2 separate regions of the Homo sapiens genome follow, and region 2 is linked to region 1. Evidence: promoter capture Hi-C in 16 types of primary human blood cells and fetal thymus (Javierre and others, 2016). All regions are on one chromosome and are shown on one strand. The core of a region is centred on a gene start or on the middle of the fragment in contact, and the rest is flanking DNA. Distances in the headings are between cores, read along the strand shown. Region 1 holds the start of NPR1 (natriuretic peptide receptor 1). Region 2 overlaps DENND4B (DENN domain containing 4B).

The links. The method cuts DNA at HindIII sites, captures the fragments that hold promoters and counts their contacts. A CHiCAGO score of 5 or more calls a contact.
Region 2: a fragment that was not itself captured here is called in contact with the fragment with the promoter of NPR1 in region 1 in 16 of 17 cell types (M2 macrophages, M0 macrophages, endothelial precursors and 13 more); the score reaches 18.1 in M2 macrophages.

What each region holds. Positions count from the first base shown.
Region 1 is chr1:153,676,679-153,681,404 of GRCh38, reverse strand. It overlaps NPR1 (natriuretic peptide receptor 1), which reads right to left and starts at 2,717. Exons shown (of 22, transcript NM_000906.4): 1 at 1,576-2,717; 2 at 705-904; 3 at 112-225. The coding sequence starts at 2,296. RefSeq lists a silencer at 1,917-1,976 and enhancers at 1,518-2,498, 2,499-3,480. The HindIII fragment of the contact is 5,247 bases long and covers 1-4,726 here.
Region 2 is chr1:153,940,606-153,945,331 of GRCh38, reverse strand. It overlaps DENND4B (DENN domain containing 4B), which reads left to right. Exons shown (of 28, transcript NM_014856.3): 2 at 935-1,274; 3 at 2,202-2,454; 4 at 2,707-2,776; 5 at 2,976-3,145; 6 at 3,219-3,463; 7 at 3,892-3,958; 8 at 4,043-4,101; 9 at 4,284-4,428; 10 at 4,726. The coding sequence starts at 958. Among named protein-coding and RNA genes, the nearest start is that of DENND4B, 3.7 kb to the left of the region's middle. RefSeq lists an enhancer at 263-362. The HindIII fragment of the contact is 4,975 bases long and covers 408-4,726 here.

The DNA of each region.
Region 1 (4,726 bases), core at 1,468-3,967:
AAGGGAGGGAAGGAAGGGGAGAACTGGGAATAGGGAAGGATGGAGGCTGGCAGAGGGTCATGGAGTGGGGGCTGGAGGTCCACGCTGGAGGGTCCCGGGACCCCTTCTTACCAGGCCATCCTCCATGGTGAAGTTGAACTGCTCATAGGCCAGGTGTTTTAACTGCTTCAGGAATTCCAAGTACTCGGGATTATCTGGGTCTTTATATGTAATGATTTTGGCAGCCTGAGAAAGGGGTCAGTGGAGAGCAGAGAGTTGGGAGCTGACTATTCCCTAGTACTGTGGGGCCCCAACAGTTGGGAGCCCACCTCCCAGAGCTGCGTCTCTGCTTAGCTCAAGGTCAAACTGGACCCTATGCCCTGCATGAAGTGATGCCCATTCCAAAGCAGGGGATCCAATGGGATGCCTTCTCCAAGTCCTGTCCAGGCTGTGGGACTTTATCCTCCTCCCGCCTCAAGCCCATTTTCTTATCTTTTTAGCCTGCTGGTGGCGAAGCGCCCCTGGGCAGTCCCCTGCCCTTCATTGCCTAATTCCCAGTGAGCATCACCAACCTCTTTTCTGTTCTGTGAGTTACCAGGAGTGCATAAAGAAACAAACAGACAAAAACCTCTTTTCTGGAATTCTTTCAGACGCTGAGGGACACAGTGCCCAGAAATGATGTGCCACAAGCTGAGACAGCCTGGGCTTCAAACCTAGGTACTCACCTGAAAGGCCTGGCGGGCACTGACATCCTGCCCATCCCCTCTCTCCCAGGGCCTGCGGGGAGCAGGGCCCTGTCCACCTTGCAGGCTTTGCCCAAAGATATCCAGGTGGAAGAAAACGTAGTCCTCCCCACACAAGCCAGCTTCCAGGGCCAGGAGCATGAGGGTTCTGAAGGCATCAGGGGAGCTGCAGATGTAGATAACTGGAGAAAGACGGAGAGTCAGAGAGAGAAGCCTAGGTACTGCGGGAGAGACAGGAGTAGGAAAGCTGGGGCACCCAAGGGAGGAAGTTTAGAGATAGGGTGCAGGAGAGACCCAGTGAGAGTTAAGTGGTAACTCCCGGCTCAGCCTAGGCCACAGCAGGAGAAAGTCGAAGGGTGGAACGGGCGGGTGCGGGGCGGTGGGCGGGAGGAGGAAGGGGGAGGCGGAAGGGAGGAAGGAACGGGTAGGGAGAGGGGGATAGTGGAGCTGAAGGTGGAGAAGGATGGGGCCAGGAGGGAGAGAGGAGGGAGAGGGAGGGGGAGAAGAGAGGGGATGAGGCGCAATGAGAGGAGAGGATGAAAGAAGGGAGAAGGCTATAGGGAAGAGAGAAAATGTGGGAGGGAAAAAGGGACCGGAACCGAGCTGTGCTAGGGTGGGAGGGAATGAGTGGGGGTCGGGGAGATGAGAGGATAGAGACGTGGTGGGGGTGGCGGAAGAAGAGAGGGAAATAGAAACTCAGCTGTAGAAAGGGCCAGGGAGCTGAAAGTAGAATGAAGAACGGCGAGGAGAAAGAAGAGTGCCCCCAGATGAGAGAGAAAGTCCCGATGCCTCCGGCAGGTCAGAGGGGAGGCCCTGCGGCTAAGCGGCGGGACGGGGTGTGCCAGCGTCTCACCTCGGCCTTTGCGCGGCATGGTCCGCAGCAGCCTGGTGTAGTGGCTGAGGTCGTCCTCGGCGAACTCCAGGTGGTCCACCGTAATATTGAGGCGGTCGCGGACCCGCATGAACAGCCCCTCCACGAGGAAGAAGCAGTGCTCTTCGTCACCCGGCCGGTAGGCGTAGAGCATGAGCGCTTGGCGCTCCCAGCCCAGCCGTCGGTGCAGCGCCGCCACGAAGTCCCCCAGCTTGGCGTAGCTGGGCCCCGCGCGGGTGGTCAGCGCATACTCGTCCTTGACACCGAAGCCCAGCGCCGGGGCGCCGGCGGTCAGCAGCGGGACCCGCCAGTGCGCGGTGAAGCGCCCCACTGGGGCGGCGGCGTACACGCAGCCGGGGCCCAGGAACACAGCGGGGTTGTGCTCCCACTTGAGGTCCACCGCGGCCAGGGGCGCTGCGGTGTCGGAGCAGACGCCCAGCGCGTTTTCGCTGCTGCCCAGCACCGTGCGGACCGTCCAGCCCGGCAGCAAGTCGGGGCGCGCCTTCACCTGGGCCAGGGCCAGCTCCACGGCGGGTCCCACGCGCGCCCACGACCAGGGGTACGAGGTATTGGCCAGCGGCAGTACCACGGCTACCGTCAGGTTGCCCGCGTGGCTGCCCCGGAGCAGCAGCAGCAGCGGCGGCAGCAGCAGGAGCAGGAGCAGGCGCAGGCGGGAGCCAGCGGGGCGCCGGGGCCCCGGCATGGCCTCAGCGGGCACCGCAGCAGGCGAGCGCTCCTACCATGGCCTCCTCGGTCCCCTTGGGCTCAGCGGCCGGTCCCAGGCATCAGGCGCGTCCCTATGGGAAGGAGCAGGAGCGGGACGGGGACGCTCACCCCGGGGCTCGAGGCCCCCTGTAGCTGCGACGGTCTGGGCCGAGAGCGCAAGGGGCGCGACCGAGGGGGGCGCGCAGGGCGCCGCGGAGCAGGTGGGTGCCAGGAGAACGTCGGGCTGGAGAGGACCCGAGTGTGAACAACTGGGAGTGTGCGTGCGTGTTAGAGAGAGAGAGAGAGAGAGAGAAAGGGTGCGAGTGAGCGCTTCGTGAAGAAGGATGAGAGAGGGCGCGCGAGGGAGGAAAGAGGAGTGTGTGTTTGTAGCGTGCGTGAGCGCCTGCCCCAGGGAGTGTGCCAGAAGGGGCGTCCGGCCGGCCCAAGTCTCCGGCTATCCGGAGGGAACCGTGGAGGACCCGAGCCAAGCTCCGAACCCTCCCTCCCAGCCGCTTCCCCTCCCAGACTCAGTGACAGAAGAGCCAATCCAGGATCTTTAACTCCTTCCTCCCCGCCGCCCAGCCCGCGCGCTTCCCCGTGGACCATCTTCCCCGGTCTCGGCCGCCCCACGCCTACCTCTTTGGAGGACAGGACCCTCTGAAGGTGCGCCCTCGCCGGGATGGAAAGGACGGCTGAACGGAGGGTGTGTGTGGAAGCAACCGGGGCCCACTTGCGCCCCACCTTTTCCCTCGCCTCCTACCTGGTCTCCTCGGGGGAAGAGGGAAAGGTGTGCTGGTTTGGGATCCTGGCAGGAAACTGAGTGAGTGCGTGGATGTGTGTGTTTGGGTGTGGGGTGGAAGGTGACGGGTTTCTGGAAAGTCCGTTAAAGTTGAAGGTGAGCCCAGAGTGCTTGTTACCCATTCCTTCTATGATCTCCCTCTCTTTCCCTCCCTGCCACCTTCCAGACTGTGCAGATTAGCTGTGAAAAAATGATCTGGTGTCAGAGAGGAATTAAATCTTTAGCGCCCAAATTGTAGGAAGATGGGGAGAGTGGGTGGGTGTCTGGGAGGGAGGAGGTTCACACCTCAGGGACGCCCCAAGAAAATGACTGTTTTGTGTTGAGGGTTGTTAAAATGAAGGCTGTGGGAGATGACCACTGGAGGCGTAAATTGGGGAGTGGGTTTTGGAGCACTTGACAGCTGGGCCCCCGGTGCAGACTGCTGTGGAATCAGTGTGCCCTCTAATGGTCATCGGGGGTTATTGACGGCATTGCAGCGCCAACCTCTCCAACGCTGCGCCTAAGCAGGACATAAGATCACCAAACTTCAGGTCAGCAAACATTTCCAGAGAACCTTCGGTGCATTAAGCACCCACTAGGTGCCGAGGGCATAAAGATGAATATATATAGTCCGTGCCTTTGAGGAGCTCCATTTGGGACAAATAACCGTAATGCAACATGCATTAAGCACTACAGGGGAGACATGGATAAATTGCTAAAGGACTCAGATGAGGGCTATTCATTCTGCTTGGATTGGGGCCAGAAAATCTCCAAAAAAGAAATAATTCAAGAGGATGGAAGGATGAGAAAGGTATTCTGTGTAGACAGAGCAGAATGTTGAAGTACATTTCCTATATATGGAATTTTAGGAGACTTGAATATTCTTATTATCTAGAGCAAATTGTGGTCGATAGGCCAACTTGAGATGGCAGGCATGCTTTGGCTTGCATTCTCTTTATGTATATTGTATTTAATTCCCCACACTTAAATATCATAAGATGGGGCCGGGCAAGGTGGCTCAAGCCTCTAATCCCAGCACTTTGGGAGGTCAGGGTGGGTGGATCATGAGGTCAGGAGTTCAAGATCAGCCTGGCCAAGATGGTGAAACCCCGTCTCTACTAAAAATACAAAAATTAGCCAGACATGGTGGCGGCCGCCTGTAATCCCAGCTACTTGGGAGGCTGAGGTAGAGAATTGCTTGAATCCGGGAGACAGAGGTTGCAACGAGCCGAGATTGCGCCACTGCACTCCAGCCTGGGCAACAGAGCAAGACTCCGTCTCAAAAAAAAAAAAAAAAAAAAGATGGTACATGAATATTTGGATTTCTGACTTTTTTTTTTTTTTCCTTCAAAGATGGAGGTCTCCCTATGTTGCCCAGGCTGGTCTTGAACTCCTAGGCTCAAGCGATCCTCTTGCATTGGCCTCCCAAAATTCCTGGATAACATGTGTGAGCCACCAGGCCCAACCTGGATTTCTGACTTTCCTTAAAATATTGGAAGAGCTGGCAATATATTGTCCTGCATCCCTCCATGAGCAATTAACCAGAGCAAGTATCCATTATCTCCTTGAAATGAGTCTAGTTCATTATGGTTCCTAGGCACCCTGCTTCACTCAGGTGCATTACCTGCCTGGCTGTAGTAGGAGTTTGTG
Region 2 (4,726 bases), core at 1,646-4,145, 260 kb before region 1:
CCATAGGCTGACTTCCTCTGAGTTGCAGCTTCCCCTCCACTGTTTCAGGAAGTAACCTCCCTTCCCCTCTGAAGCACCCCCCACGCTTCTGGGCCCCTGCTGCGAGCTACCCACCAGGCTTTTTCCCAGCTTCTGCACCCTGGGGCGCCTCAGGACCCTTGGGGCTCCTACTCCCCGGGGTTGGGCCATGGAGGCAGGTGAGAACTAGGCTGTTGTGGGCCTGTTTCTGTCTCTGGGCTCCATGGTGGAGGGTGTGGGATGGCCGGGACTTGTCTCTCACAACTGCTTTGGATCTAACGAGCTACCTAAGGATCCTGGAGGTGTGAGAACACTGGATTTTGGGCCAGATTGGTGGAGTTAAGCTAGGAGAAAGGACACTTGGGTTCGTTGAAAAGACTCTTAAAGCTTGGGTTTTGTGGGCTTTCTCAGAAACCCATGGGGTCCTCTTAAAAACCTAGGAGTGGGCTCTTTAAGAACATTGGCAGGATCACAAGGTTCTTATGGTGTCATAACTAGAGTAGGAAGGTCAGAAACCCTTGAAAAGACTGTAAGGTTGGTATGATGTCATGGCCAGCATGAATGATGTCATGGAAGGCTATTACAAAAAAGATTGTGATCTCTGTGATGTTATAACTGGTGAGCCTTTAAAAGGGACACATGGACAATGTGAATGTCATAGCTCAGGTTAGCTGTGTGTGGTGGAGTTTAGGTTCTTTGAGGGGAGTGCCAGGACCATTAAGTGGGAGGGATCTGGTCTCTTTAAGAAGCTGTGGTGGGCAGTGATGTCACAGGGGGAAGAGTTCAGGATTGGCCGACCCCTTATCCTGCCTTTCTTTGGAAGGACTAGGAAGAGGAGGGGAGCAAGAGGGTACCCTGGTTGCCATGGCATCCCCAGCCTTCCTTGCTTCATCTCTCTCCCACTTGACCATTCCAGATGCAGTGAGTGAGGGGGGGGCCATGGCGGAGGAGCGGCCCCCCCGGCTGGTGGATTACTTCGTGGTAGCTGGGCTTGCAGGGAACGGAGCACCCATCCCTGAGGAAACGTGGGTTCCTGAACCCAGTGGGCCCCTGCGCCCTCCCCGGCCAGCTGAGCCCATCACAGATGTGGCAGTCATCGCTAGGGCACTGGGCGAGGAAGTGCCCCAGGGCTACACATGCATCCAGGCTTCTGCTGGGGGCCACCCCTTGGAACTCAGTGCTGGACTTCTGGGTGGAACTCAACCCGTCATCTGCTACCGCAGGGGCCGTGACAAGCCCCCCCTCGTTGAGCTGGGGTGTGTGCCCCTACCCATGCTGGCACCAGGGGAGGCTGGGAGGGACTCCAGTGAGACAGGGAGAGGTAGGACTATGGAACAAGGGAAGGGCAATGGGGATGGGAGCCTGGTGGGCCAGGGGCCAGGAAGGAAGGACTGAAGTTGTATGTACTTAGTCCTTACAGATGCGATTTCATGTGCTAGTGCTGCTCCTTGCTAGCTCTGAGAGCTTAGGCAGGTTTTTGAGCTCCTCTGGGCCTGTTTTCCTCATCTGTCAAATGGGGAAAATAATTCATCCTCATAGGATGGTCGAGATTAAATGAGATAACCCATGTGACAGACTTAACAGAGTCAGTCAGTGGTAGCTTGTATAACTATTTTTTTTTTTTTTTTTTTTTTTATAGACAGAGTCTCTCTCTGTCACTCAGGCTGGAGTGCAGTGGTGTGATCTTGGCTCACTGCAACCTTCGCCTCCTGGGTTCAGGCAATTCTCCTGCCTCAGCTTCCTGAGTAGCTGAGACTATAGGCATGTGCCACCACGTCCAGCTAATTTTTGAATTTTTAGTAGAGATGGGGTTTGACCATGTTGGCCAGGCTGGTCCTGAACCCCTGACCTCAGGTGATCCACCTGCCTTGGCCTCCCAAAGTGCTGGGATTATAGGCATGAGCCACCGTGCCCAGCTGACCCTTAGTGTTTATTAATGAGTATGAGAGCCATAGAAGGCATGCAGGATTGTTGCTGACCATGAAATAAGGCCAAAGGCCAAAGAAAGGGCACAGGATTCTGGAGGGCAGAGTTCAGCAAGAAGAGGTGGGCCCTAGTGTTAGAGTTTGACAAGGCTGTGGGTACAAGGCAAGTTCAGGGGATTAGATAGGCAGATCTGGCAGGATTGGGTCTTTGTCCTCTACCCTGACCTCTCAACATCTATCTTTGCTCTCTGTGCCAAGGGTGTTGTATGAGGGGAAGGAACGTCCCAAGCCTGGCTTCCAAGTGCTTGACACGACACCCTACAGCCACTCAGCAAACCTGGCCCCTCCAGGCCCCGGGCACCCCCGCACCTACCTCACTTACCGGCGGGCAGCAGAGGGGGCAGGGCTGCATGCCCTGGGCATCACTGACCTCTGCCTGGTGCTGCCCAGTAAGGGCGAGGGCACTCCTCATACTTACTGCCGGCTGCCCCGCAACCTCAACCCTGGCATGGTGAGTGGGGCCAAGAGCTGACACCTGGTCCTCTTGGTGTAAGAGTGGGTGTGGACACTGGGAACAAAGGGCATCCCAGGACCAAGGCTCTGACCACAGGGGTGAGTCCAGAGGGGTAACTCTGGTCTTGGGGCACTGGGATTAATGGGAGCTTTAAAGACAAAAGAACATTTAGGGGTGGTAGAGAGAAAGTGGACCCCAGAAACCTTTGTTAGCTATGTATCTGCTTGTCTCTTGCCATTTCTGGGGTAGTGGGGCCCAGCAGTGTACCTGTGCTATAAGGTGGGCCTGGCGAAGGCCAACACGCTGGTGTACGAGGCAGGTGAGTGGCCCCTTTATCCCTCCAATCCTGTGACCCTACATCCCTTTGCCCTGGTGCCTCTTGGCAGGCACCTTAAGTGTCCCCAGAGTTTACTTTCTCTTTGCTACTCGGGCCTTCTCTGGGATCCCTTGGTTCATTTCCCTTGGAGTCTGATGGACCCTGCTCCTTTTGGGTACCCCCAACTATGCTGGGGGTGCAGAGCTGCTGGGCCGCTACCCGGAGGAGGACAATGAGGCGTTCCCGCTGCCCGAGTCAGTGCCCGTCTTCTGCCTGCCCATGGGGGCCACTATCGAGTGCTGGCCTGCCCAGACCAAGTACCCCGTGCCCGTCTTCTCCACCTTTGTGCTCACGGGTGCAGCTGGTGATAAGGTGGGTGTGTGGAGTGTGGCAAGGGGTCCAGGCTATGCAGGGCCTGCCTGACTACCCTTCTGCCCCCTGCCAGGTGTATGGTGCCGCCCTGCAGTTCTACGAGGCGTTCCCAAGGGCCAGGCTATCAGAGCGACAGGCACGGGCACTGGGCCTGCTGAGCGCCGTGGAGCGGGGTCGGGCACTGGGGGGCAGAGCTGTGCGCAGCCGGCGTGCCATCGCTGTGCTGTCCCGCTGGCCTGCCTTCCCTGCCTTCCGCGCCTTCCTCACCTTCCTTTACCGCTACTCCGTCTCAGGCCCCCACCGCCTACCCTTGGAAGCGTGAGCATGGCTCCTCTGCCATTGGGAAGGGGTTAGGAAGGGATAAGGGGGCCAGGAGAGATGGGAGAGATTCAGATGTGGGTGGGGGGAGGGCTGGGCACAGGGTAAGGGACAGGGCTGCAGTGTGTGGTTATACAGTTTATCCACTGTAAAAACGCCACGGGCTGAGGAGGGGAGCAGGGCCTGAAATCCAGTCTAAACTTACTAGTTAGGTCCTGGCAAAGGGCTGTGTATGCCCAGGGAGGATTTCTTTTCTGATCTGCACAAATTATATGCATAATGGAGGTTCTGTTGGCTGATAACAGGTCTCAAAGTGGGGTTCAGGAAGGAATAAGGTTCTTGAGAACAAGTGAAAGAGCTGAGAAAATGTGGAGGGAGGACAGGGATGGACGGGGGAGTATGCTCTGACCTGTTTCTCTGTCCCCCAGGCACATCTCCCACTTCATTCACAACGTTCCCTTCCCTTCCCCACAGAGACCCCGCATCCTAGTGCAGGTGAGAGCTGAGGCTGGGGCCGGGCTGATGGAAGGAGGGGAGTTGGCATCATTACCCTGAGCCGTGGCTCTTCTTCCCTTCCAGATGTCTCCCTATGACAACTTGCTCCTCTGTCAGCCTGTATCCTCACCCCTGCCCCTCAGGTATGTGATCAGATTGTGGGGAGGGGAGCTTTAATGACCAAGGACATGGTAGGTGCTGGGCAGGTGGGTGCAGCTGTTGAGGTTTATGCAGGCTGGGTCCAGGTGGTGGCTGTGCCTGGCATCTGGGGAAGGGTCCCCAGGGTATCCTGGTGACCCTTTCCCCACCTCGGCATTGCCTGCAGTGGTGCCAGCTTCCTGCAGCTGCTGCAGAGCCTGGGCCCTGAGCTGGCTATCACACTGCTGCTGGCTGTGCTCACAGAGCACAAGCTGCTAGTCCACTCGCTGCGGCCAGACCTGCTCACCAGCGTCTGTGAGGCCCTCGTCTCGGTGAGTGCCGCCCCGCCTGGCCCATCTTCCCCAGAACCATGGTTCTTTCTGGTGCCCCTATCCCTGCCTGGACTCTTCCCTTTTCCTTCCTTGTGGAGGATCCTCAGCCCCTTTCCCTGGGCACAGCCTGCAGGAACACATAGCTTCCATCAGGAGCTCTTCTCTAGAGCCTACTTCCAACAGCCTCTCTCAACAGGCACCAACTCCCCAAGGCCAATGCCCTCTCTTTCTCTCTCCTGTGCCTCCCACTGCTGCCTCAACCCCCTGTTCACTGGTTCTCACTGCCTGGTGCTTCAGA